Regions from separate parts of the Homo sapiens genome. Here all the other regions are linked to region 3. The links are contacts of gene promoters, found by promoter capture Hi-C in blood cells and fetal thymus (Javierre and others, 2016). All regions are on one chromosome and are shown on one strand. Each heading gives the region's core, a stretch centred on a gene start or on the middle of the fragment in contact. The rest is flanking DNA. Distances are from core to core; before and after follow the strand shown. Region 1 overlaps RAB11FIP1 (RAB11 family interacting protein 1). Region 2 holds the start of BRF2 (BRF2 general transcription factor IIIB subunit). Region 3 holds the start of FGFR1 (fibroblast growth factor receptor 1).

The links. Contacts are between HindIII fragments. The CHiCAGO score rates a contact against its expected background, and 5 or more counts as called.
Region 1: a fragment that was not itself captured here is called in contact with the fragment with the promoter of FGFR1 in region 3 in 1 of 17 cell types (naive CD8 T cells); the score reaches 5.5 in naive CD8 T cells.
Region 2: the fragment with the promoter of BRF2 here is called in contact with the fragment with the promoter of FGFR1 in region 3 in 10 of 17 cell types (non-activated CD4 T cells, activated CD4 T cells, naive CD4 T cells and 7 more); the score reaches 14.6 in non-activated CD4 T cells.

The regions. Positions count from the first base shown.
Region 1 is chr8:37,881,363-37,884,388 of GRCh38, reverse strand. The region is part of intron 1 of RAB11FIP1 (RAB11 family interacting protein 1); the gene reads left to right. Among named protein-coding and RNA genes, the nearest start is that of RAB11FIP1, 17 kb to the left of the region's middle. RefSeq lists enhancers at 927-1,046, 2,455-2,564, 2,962-3,026. The HindIII fragment of the contact is 2,380 bases long and covers 587-2,966 here.
Region 2 is chr8:37,848,078-37,851,116 of GRCh38, reverse strand. It overlaps BRF2 (BRF2 general transcription factor IIIB subunit), which reads left to right and starts at 1,256. Exons shown (of 4, transcript NM_018310.4): 1 at 1,256-1,487; 2 at 2,462-2,521. The coding sequence starts at 1,334. RefSeq lists enhancers at 1,051-1,400, 1,441-1,580. The HindIII fragment of the contact is 8,285 bases long and covers 1-3,039 here.
Region 3 is chr8:38,467,227-38,470,454 of GRCh38, reverse strand. It overlaps FGFR1 (fibroblast growth factor receptor 1), which reads left to right and starts at 1,820. Exons shown (of 18, transcript NM_023110.3): 1 at 1,820-2,474. RefSeq lists enhancers at 1,488-1,657, 1,094-2,080 and silencers at 1,938-2,007, 2,278-2,407, 2,418-2,537. The HindIII fragment of the contact is 10,295 bases long and covers 1-3,228 here.

The DNA.
Region 1 (3,026 bases), core at 527-3,026, 590 kb after region 3:
TATATAGTTTATAGAAATTTTATGTTGGCCGGGTGTGGTAGCTCACGCCTGTATTCCCAGCACTTTGGGAGGCCGAAGCAGGTGGATCATGAGGTCAGGAGTTCGATACCAGCCTGGCCAAGATGGTGAAACCCTGTCTCTAGTAAAAATACAAAAATTAGCCGGATGCAGTGGTGTGCGCCTGTACTCCCAGCTACTCGGGAGGCTGAGGGAGGAGAATCACTTGAACCTGGGCGACGGTGGTTGCAGTGAGCTGAGATCATGCCACTGTACTCCAGCCTGGGCAATAGACAATAGAATGAGACTCTGTCTCAAAAATAAATAAATAAATAAATAAATAAATAAAATTATGTCACTTTCTACATATCCAGAGATCCTTTTAATTCTTGCAGGACTGAGTTTAATGATAAGCAATAATAATTTGTTTATTGAAGGGATCATTTGATTTTTACTTTTGATAGGTGGCAAGATTTTTTCAGAATATGGGCTTAAAAATAAACTTGCTACATTGGGATTATGGCTCTCTTTTTCTGCCCTTTGGACTAGGGAAATGGACCCAACCCTGATTTCTGAGATAATTCAAGCTTTCAGGGCCTACGTGAAAGATAATACTGGAACACACCCACGCTGCCATCACATGCTGTGTTGCTAGGCTGGGACTTTATTATTTATGAGCTACTTCTGTGAGGTGCAGGAATTAAGTGAACTGAAAAACACATGGGCAGTAACACTTAGAAACTGGGTTGATCTTAAATATAAAAATCCCCAGATGTGTTCTTCTGGTTTGGGATTTCTTAGGGCAAGATATTCAAGCACTGTGGCTTTCACTGTCTTATCAAAGTATGCTTCTATCAAACATCCCTTGCTTAAACTGTTTTTGAATTTGAGGATAATATTGCTAGTAAAAGAAACAATTCTTGGCTGGGCACAGTGGCTCACGCCTGTAATCCCAACACTTGGGGAGGCTGAGGCAGGCGGATCACCTGAGGTCAAGAGTTTGAGACCAGCCTGGCCAACATAAAATTAGTTGGGCATAGTTGCGCACGCCTGTAATCCCAGCTACTCAGCAAGCTGAGGCAGGAGAATCGGTTGAACCCAGGAGGAGGAGGTTGCAGTGAGCTGAGATCACGTCACTGCACTCCAGCCTGGGCGATAGAGTGAGACTCAGTCTCTAAAACAAACAGACAAACAAACAAACACCAAGAAAAAAAAACCAGAAAAAAAAAAAAACGAAACAATTCTTGTTTTGCTTTCCAGCTTTAATACATGGAGCACAGATTTGTAAATTCTGCCTCTTTGCCTGGGCTGTTTCCCTGCTGGCCTGTGATTCAGCCTGTTTCATATCCTTCAATAGCCCCGTGGCTGGTGCCTGGCTACCTGGTGTTTGGCTTTAGGTTTGCTTGTGAAATTAAGCAGCAAGAACAGTTGGTGACGTTTATATTTGCACTTCCTAATGGTGTTGGAAGTTTCCAAAGCAAATCCCACTTTAGGACCCAGGGATTGGACCTGAGAATCAGGTAATAATTGGTCCCGAGGGAGGATTCTGGAATCGGTTGTAGTTTTGCTCAAAAACCATTAGGAAGTGCAAAGAAAACCTCACTGATACTTTCGGAAAGGCAAGGCTGGCCCTTGGAATTGTCAACTGGCTATGTTACAGGAAAGGGGTCCTGATCCAGACCCCAAAAGAGAGTGTTTGGTCTCCCGCAAGAAAGAATTCAGGGCAAGTCTGCAGTGCAAAGTAAAAGCAAGTTTATTAAGAAAGCAAAGTATTGAAGGTACAGCTACTCCATAGACAGAGTAGGACGTTCCCGAAAGTAAGAGGAGGAACACCTCCACTCTAGGCACTATGCTTATTCATACACAGGATAAAAAGATCATTGAGAGATGTGCCCTACTACAAGGGTTTGTGATAAAGGATTAATTTTCTTAATTACTATATTTTGTGAGAATCAATATTATTAGCTTCAAAGCAAAATTAGGATAGCCTTTGTTCTCCAGATTTGGGGATATTAGAACACTCCCAAGTCTGGGTCTGTTTGGTAAACATTATCCATCTGTTCCCTTACCCATAAACATCTAGAGGCTAGGAATACCTAACTTTCTGGGAATGCAGCGCAGCAAGTCCCAGCCTCATTTTCCTAGCCCTCACTCAAGATGGAGTTGCACTGGTTTGAATGCCTCTGACAGCTGCTTTGGAGGCCTGTCACATTTGTGCATCCCCGTGGAGGGCTAATAGAAGGGCCCGTGTGGAAGAGCTGTGGAGAAACCCCTGCCTGAAGCTCCTGCCCTGGGCGGGGAGGTGAAGCGTGCTGCCCGCCTGCGGTTGGTGAGGTCATCGAAACCTCCTCAGTTAGCGTTCAGCAACTTCTCCTTTTCAGGTGCCTGCAACTGGTATTTACAAAAGCTAAACACCCTTCATCACCAAGGCTACCATTTACCACATGACTGTCAGAAGAGAAAAATATAAATAATCCTCTCAAAATTGAAGTGACAAATATGCAGACAATTCCAGGCCAGGCCCTGGAAAATGTATTGGACAGACACTAGGCTGGCAAGGGTGACATTGTCTATAAAGACCTTGCATTTTCCACTTGAGCCCAGGAGTCCAGGGCTGCAGTGAGCTATGATCGCACCACTGCACTCCAGCCTGGGCAAGAGAGTGAGACCCTGTTGCAAAAAATAAAAAATAAAAAAAGACCTTGCGTCTTGCAACACCCACCACTCCCCGCCTGCCCAGCTCTGGATTGAGGTTATAAAAACCATAAAAGATTTGTCTCCTAAGGGTCCAAAATTATAGCTCATATAATTTTATCCTCTCCTTGCTGTATTTTGTGAATTCATTTTAAGTTCTTCTTGATGACTTTGTATACTGGCCTTTAAGTAATCTCAACGATTTATGACTGATGGCAAGCTATGTTAGTTTCCTTCCTTTCTTCTTTCATCTTTGGACATTTAAATGAGAAGCTTAAATGTTTCTCAAAAAGAATTTAAATTTGAACCCTCTTTTCTCTATGTTACAAAAGATG
Region 2 (3,039 bases), core at 7-2,506, 620 kb after region 3:
GCTAGTGGGGAGGTCTAGAAAAGGCGGGGGGGCTTGGACTGCCGGATCCCACCCACGATTAATGTGCTGAAGCCCCCTTCTGTTATGATACTAAAGTAATTCAAATTGAAGAGAAAGGACCGTTGGGTATTATTGTGTCTCTTGGCCCTCCAATGTGAGCGATCCCCATGGGAATGGACGGGATGTCTCTGAAAAGGAGTAGTGATTCTCACACTCTGAGAAAGCAGTCTCTTAGGGAAGGGATGGTGTCTTTAGGTTTGGATATCACGTGTAAAAACTGGGTGTGGAAAAGAAGGGAGTGACACTTCTTAAAGGTATGTTTTATTTTGTTTGAGATGGAGTCTCGCTCTGCCACCCAGGCTGGAGTGCAGTGGCGCGATCTTGGCTCACTGCGCCTCCTGCGCCTCCTGGGTTCAAGCGATTCTCCTGCCTCAGCCTCCTGAGTAGCTGGGATTAGAGACGTGCACCACCACGCCCAGCTAATTTTTGTGTATTTTTAGTAGAGACGGGATTTCACCATGTTGCCCAGGCTGGTCTCAAACTCCCGAGCTCAGGTGATCCACCTGCCTCGGCCTTCCAAAGTGCTGGGATTACAGGCGTGAGCCACCACGCCCAGATAGCTCAAGGTTTTTTAAAAAACATCTGAATCTGCGTGCTTGCGCCGCTCCAGGTCTCCATCACTCCATATTCTTTCACTCCAAACTCCTTTAGACATTCCTGCCTGGCCTCCAAAAGCGTTTGGGTTTGCATCTCTGGATTTTTTTTTCAACTTCCTCATTTTACAGTTGAGAAAAACAGGAGGTAAAGAGAGGAAGGAATCTGCTTTAGGAAGCAGCTCTGGAAAGCAGAACACAGTTTCCTGCTCCCGCTCTCTCTCCACTACTCTCCCTTTAAAAAATATACTTTCTTCTATGGCCAATTAAACATTCATTACCAACCTGCGATTCCCTTAGGACTTTAAAAGGAGGGTTGTTCAGGGGTGACAACAATCTTCTGTCTGTTATACGTGTCCATGTAGGCAAAAACTTTCCCAAATTCAACCCCAGTCTAGGTCCCAAAAACTAACTACAGAGTGCAGGGAAACCAGACAGCTACAGTTCAGCCCAGGAACCTCCTCTCCTAGCTCACGTTTCTACCCGAGCCCGCGGAGGCACAGACCGGAAGTGGCGCGCAGCCTCCCAGCGGAGGGAACCGCCTATGCCTCCGTCGCGCTGGCCGGAAGACGGGGGTGCAACCCTTTGAAGTGTCCCCTCCTACTTCTTGCTGCCTCACGGTTGCTGTTGCAGACCCAGGAGTCTCTGAAGGCTTCCGCGGCTTTGGGGCCGGTTGTGAGATGCCAGGCAGAGGCCGCTGCCCGGACTGCGGCTCCACGGAGCTGGTGGAAGACTCGCACTATTCGCAGAGCCAGCTGGTGTGCTCCGACTGCGGCTGCGTGGTCACCGAGGGGGTCCTTACCACTACCTTCAGCGACGAGGGCAATCTCCGAGGTACTTGTGGCCCTGGGGACAGCCTGGGGCGGTGGAGGGATTAACATCAGATTCCTTTTGCCTCCCCGCTCCCCCCATACTCCTAACTGTAACGCACACACTTAATTTGAGAGAAAATGACCTAAAGTGAGCGAGGGAGCTGAAGGAGATGGGGGCTGCCATTCATCTGTGTTTTCCCAGCACTTAGTATCGGGCATAGATGGTGCGTGTAATAAATATTGAATAAGTGAGACAGAAACAAAAGTTCCACTCATCTTGCCATGTCTGGTCATTGTGGAAGGATTGCCGATACGATTATAGCAGGTATTATTACCCTGAAATAGTTTTAAGCACAAACTGGCAAAACATCACTTTTCTTTGCTTTCCAAGTTTCTGACCAGTGCAGCCCTCAAAATCTGCAGCCATTGTCTGGGTGGGGTGGCTTACGCCTGTAATCCCAGTGCTTTGGGAGGCAGAGCCGAGAGGATTGCTTGAGCCCAGGATCTCGAGACCAGCCTTGGTAACGTAACGAGACAAGTGCCTAAAAAAATTTTTTTTTAATTAGCCAGGTATGGTGGCATACACCTGTAATCCCAGCTACCCAGGAATCTGAGGTAGGAGGATTGCTTGAGCCTGGAAGTTGAAGGCTGCCGTGAGCTGTGATCGCACCACTGTGCTCCAGCCTGGACTATAGAGGGAAACTCCTTAAACAAACAACAACAAAATCTGCTGCTAGGAAAATTGCCTGTATGGAATGTACTGGAAGGATGACTGGAAATTTGGAACACTTGGAGCTGCTTTAATGCAGTCCTAACCTTTCCCAGTCTCTGTGTATTCGGAACCTCTTGTAGACATAGAAAACCAGATGGGGCCTTTAACTGTGCAGCAGCAGATGCTCAATGATTTGAATTTTGCGTCCTGGTTTTGTGTGGTGGGAGGGCAGGGGTCTGATGAATAAAGGCTAAGCACACTATTTGTTGTTTATTATCTTACAGAGGTAACATATTCCCGAAGCACAGGGGAAAACGAACAAGTTAGTCGCAGCCAGCAACGAGGTGAGAATTGACCTTTTACAACACAGTGGCTTTAAAGAAAACTATCCTAGGCCAGGTGCTGTGGCTCACGCCTGTAATCCCAGCACTTTGGGAGGCCTAGGCAGGTGGATCACCTGAGGTCAGGAGTTCAAGACCAGCCTGGCAAACATAGCGAAACCCCGTCTCTACTAAAAATACAAAAATTAGCTGGGCATGGTGGCATGTACCTGTAGTCCCAGCTACTTGGCAGGCTGAGGCAGGAGAATCGCTTGAACCTGGGAGGTGGAGGTTGCAGTGAGCTGAGATCGCGCCACTGCACTCCAGCCTGGGTGACAGAGTGAGACTCCATCTCAAAAAAATAATAATGAGCCGGGCGCGGTGGCTCATGCCTGTAATCCCAGCACTTTGGGAGGCCGAGGCGGGCGGATCACGAGGTCAGGAGATTGAGACCATCCTGGTTAACACGATGAAACCCCATCTCTACTAAAAATACAAAAAAATTAGCCGGGCGTGATGGTGGGTGCCTGTAGTCCCAGCTA
Region 3 (3,228 bases), core at 571-3,070:
CTTCAAGTGATCCTCCCGCTTCGGCCACCCAAAGTGCTGGGATTACAGGCGTGAGCTGTAATTTAGTTGTTTATTTACTCATTTGTTCAACAAATACTTATTGAATATTTGCTCTTTGGCCAGTCAAGGGATTTCATGAGTGTCTACTATGTGAATAACACTGTGTTGGCCACTAGTCTGTCACCTACTGGTGGATTAGAAAAATAGCGCGAGGACCATTTTTTCTTTTCTTTTCTTTTTTTTTTTGAGACGGAGTCTTGCTCTGTTGCCAGGCTGGAGTGCAGTGGCACAATCTCGGCTCACTGCAACCTCCGCCTCCCGGGTTCAAGCGATTCCTCTGCCGCAGCCTCCCCAGTAGCTGGGATTACAGGCAAGCGCCACCATGCCTGGCTAATTTTTTTGTATTTTAGTAGAGACGGGGTTTCACCTTGTTGGCAAGGATAGTCTCGATCTCCCGACCTCGTGATCCACCCGCCTCGGCCTCCCAAAGTGCTGGGATTACAGGCATAAGCCACCGCACCCGGCCAACTCTTTTCTTAAATTAGCCAGGGAGGCGTGGGTGGGTTGGGTGAGGAGTTGGGTGGGGGGATCTCATTCAGTATTCAAACTTCTACAAGTTTCGGGGTTGAGGTGGGTGATGGTAAGGGAACAGGCCCTGCCACTACCTTTCATAGTGACTTCCATTTGTGTAATATTTTTGGTCCACTGAGAGCTATTATTTTATTTGATTCTTATGACCATCTTGTGAAGGAGTATCAACAGATACCCCGTTTTGATTTTATCAGATGCATGATTTGTCCTACATCAAACTTCATAAATGATGGACAGAATGGAGGAATCCTTCAGACCAAGTGCTGCCTACTTCCCACCCCAATGGTGGCCTCAGCCTGGGCTCACATCACACGCCCCAAGGAGCCTTGGAAAAAATAAAGGCTCTTGGCTCCTTCCTGGGACAGCGTGATTCCTCATGTCTGAGCAGGCCCATGAACTTGTATTTTTCAGACGTTCCCTAGGACCCGTGTCCATCTGGATTAGGGAACCACTACATTATACCACTTCGCGGGAAGACTCAGGGGGAAGCATTTTAGCCACTTTCCTGTGTTCCACAGTACTGGAGGGTGTTCTGAGTGGGCTGTGATTAATTTCCAAACCAACCACACGTCTCCCCTCAACTCCCACTGCTTACTCTTTGCTTCCTAGACATTCACTGCAGGCTGGAGACTTCTGGAAGCCAACAGCATCGCTGTAGAATTTACAGGGTCCAGTTCCCGGTGGACCACAAAACCTAAATTATGTGGCTGGGGAAAGCTGAAATCCAAGGGAAGGGTTTGAGGAGGGGCTGACCTTATAATAAAACCGGCTTGTATTTACTAAGTGTTAACTATGCGCTAGGCCCTCGTTGACGCCTCAACTCTATGTGAAAAGCACTATTATCCCCCATTTACAGATGGGAAAACAGAGATTTAGAGCGCGAAAATCATTTCCCCAAGGCGCACAGACTCCAAAGCCCACGCTACCAGGTACAACCTCAAGGCTGCGGCGTCTCTTCACCTGCCCCCTAGCCCCCAAACCGCTGCTATGTCTAGGGCCTGACATTCCGGCGCCCTCTGGGACGTGCTCAGATGCAGGGGCGCAAACGCCAAAGGAGACCAGGCTGTAGGAAGAGAAGGGCAGAGCGCCGGACAGCTCGGCCCGCTCCCCGTCCTTTGGGGCCGCGGCTGGGGAACTACAAGGCCCAGCAGGCAGCTGCAGGGGGCGGAGGCGGAGGAGGGACCAGCGCGGGTGGGAGTGAGAGAGCGAGCCCTCGCGCCCCGCCGGCGCATAGCGCTCGGAGCGCTCTTGCGGCCACAGGCGCGGCGTCCTCGGCGGCGGGCGGCAGCTAGCGGGAGCCGGGACGCCGGTGCAGCCGCAGCGCGCGGAGGAACCCGGGTGTGCCGGGAGCTGGGCGGCCACGTCCGGACGGGACCGAGACCCCTCGTAGCGCATTGCGGCGACCTCGCCTTCCCCGGCCGCGAGCGCGCCGCTGCTTGAAAAGCCGCGGAACCCAAGGACTTTTCTCCGGTCCGAGCTCGGGGCGCCCCGCAGGGCGCACGGTACCCGTGCTGCAGTCGGGCACGCCGCGGCGCCGGGGCCTCCGCAGGGCGATGGAGCCCGGTCTGCAAGGAAAGTGAGGCGCCGCCGCTGCGTTCTGGAGGAGGGGGGCACAAGGTCTGGAGACCCCGGGTGGCGGACGGGAGCCCTCCCCCCGCCCCGCCTCCGGGGCACCAGCTCCGGCTCCATTGTTCCCGCCCGGGCTGGAGGCGCCGAGCACCGAGCGCCGCCGGGAGTCGAGCGCCGGCCGCGGAGCTCTTGCGACCCCGCCAGGACCCGAACAGAGCCCGGGGGCGGCGGGCCGGAGCCGGGGACGCGGGCACACGCCCGCTCGCACAAGCCACGGCGGACTCTCCCGAGGCGGAACCTCCACGCCGAGCGAGGTAAGAGCCGCGGCGCCCCCGGATCTGGGGCGGGCTTGGCGTCCCGAGCGGCCCCCGGCGCCGGAGCCTCCCGGCTGCGCGCTTTGCCCGCCGCAGCCCAGCCGGGGCCGGCGCCTCCCTCCGCTCGCCGCCCGCCCCTTTCACCTCCTGGCTCCCTCCCGGGCGATCCGCGCCCCTTGGGTCTCCCCTCCCTTCCCTCCGTCCGCGTCTCCTGCGCCCCCTCCCTGCGCTCGTCCCGCCGCTCTTCCCGCCGCCCAACTTTTCCTCCAACTCGCGCTCGGGAGCTGGCGAGGCGGCGGCGGCTCCTCAGTGAGTCCCGGGAGGGACAGGCCCGGGGCGAAGGCGGCGAGGCCCGCGGTTTCCTGGACTGGGGAGGAGGGCGGGAGTGGGCGGCGAGGTGGGATGCGTTGTGTGTGTTATGTGTGTGTGTTGCATTCCACTCCATGTCTTTTTGGTCCCCTTTTGGGGATTCACCCCCAATTCAGCAGGTAGCTTTGGGCTCAACGCTAAAAATCCGGGGCATTCCTAAGTCCTTTTCCACCCCCGGGAAAGCCTGGGGTGCGGGTTGGGGTCGGATGGGGTGGGAGATGAACTGCGGAGGACGTGGAGGGCTAGGTTAGCTTCTCTTGGAATAGGTTTTAAGGAGGTGTCGTCACCAAATGGCTGAATCTGCTTGAGCTGAGAGCGAAAAACGACTCCCCTTTCCAGAAGGGGTGATCTTATGACTTGGACGGTCTCTGAAAGGGTCGGAAGT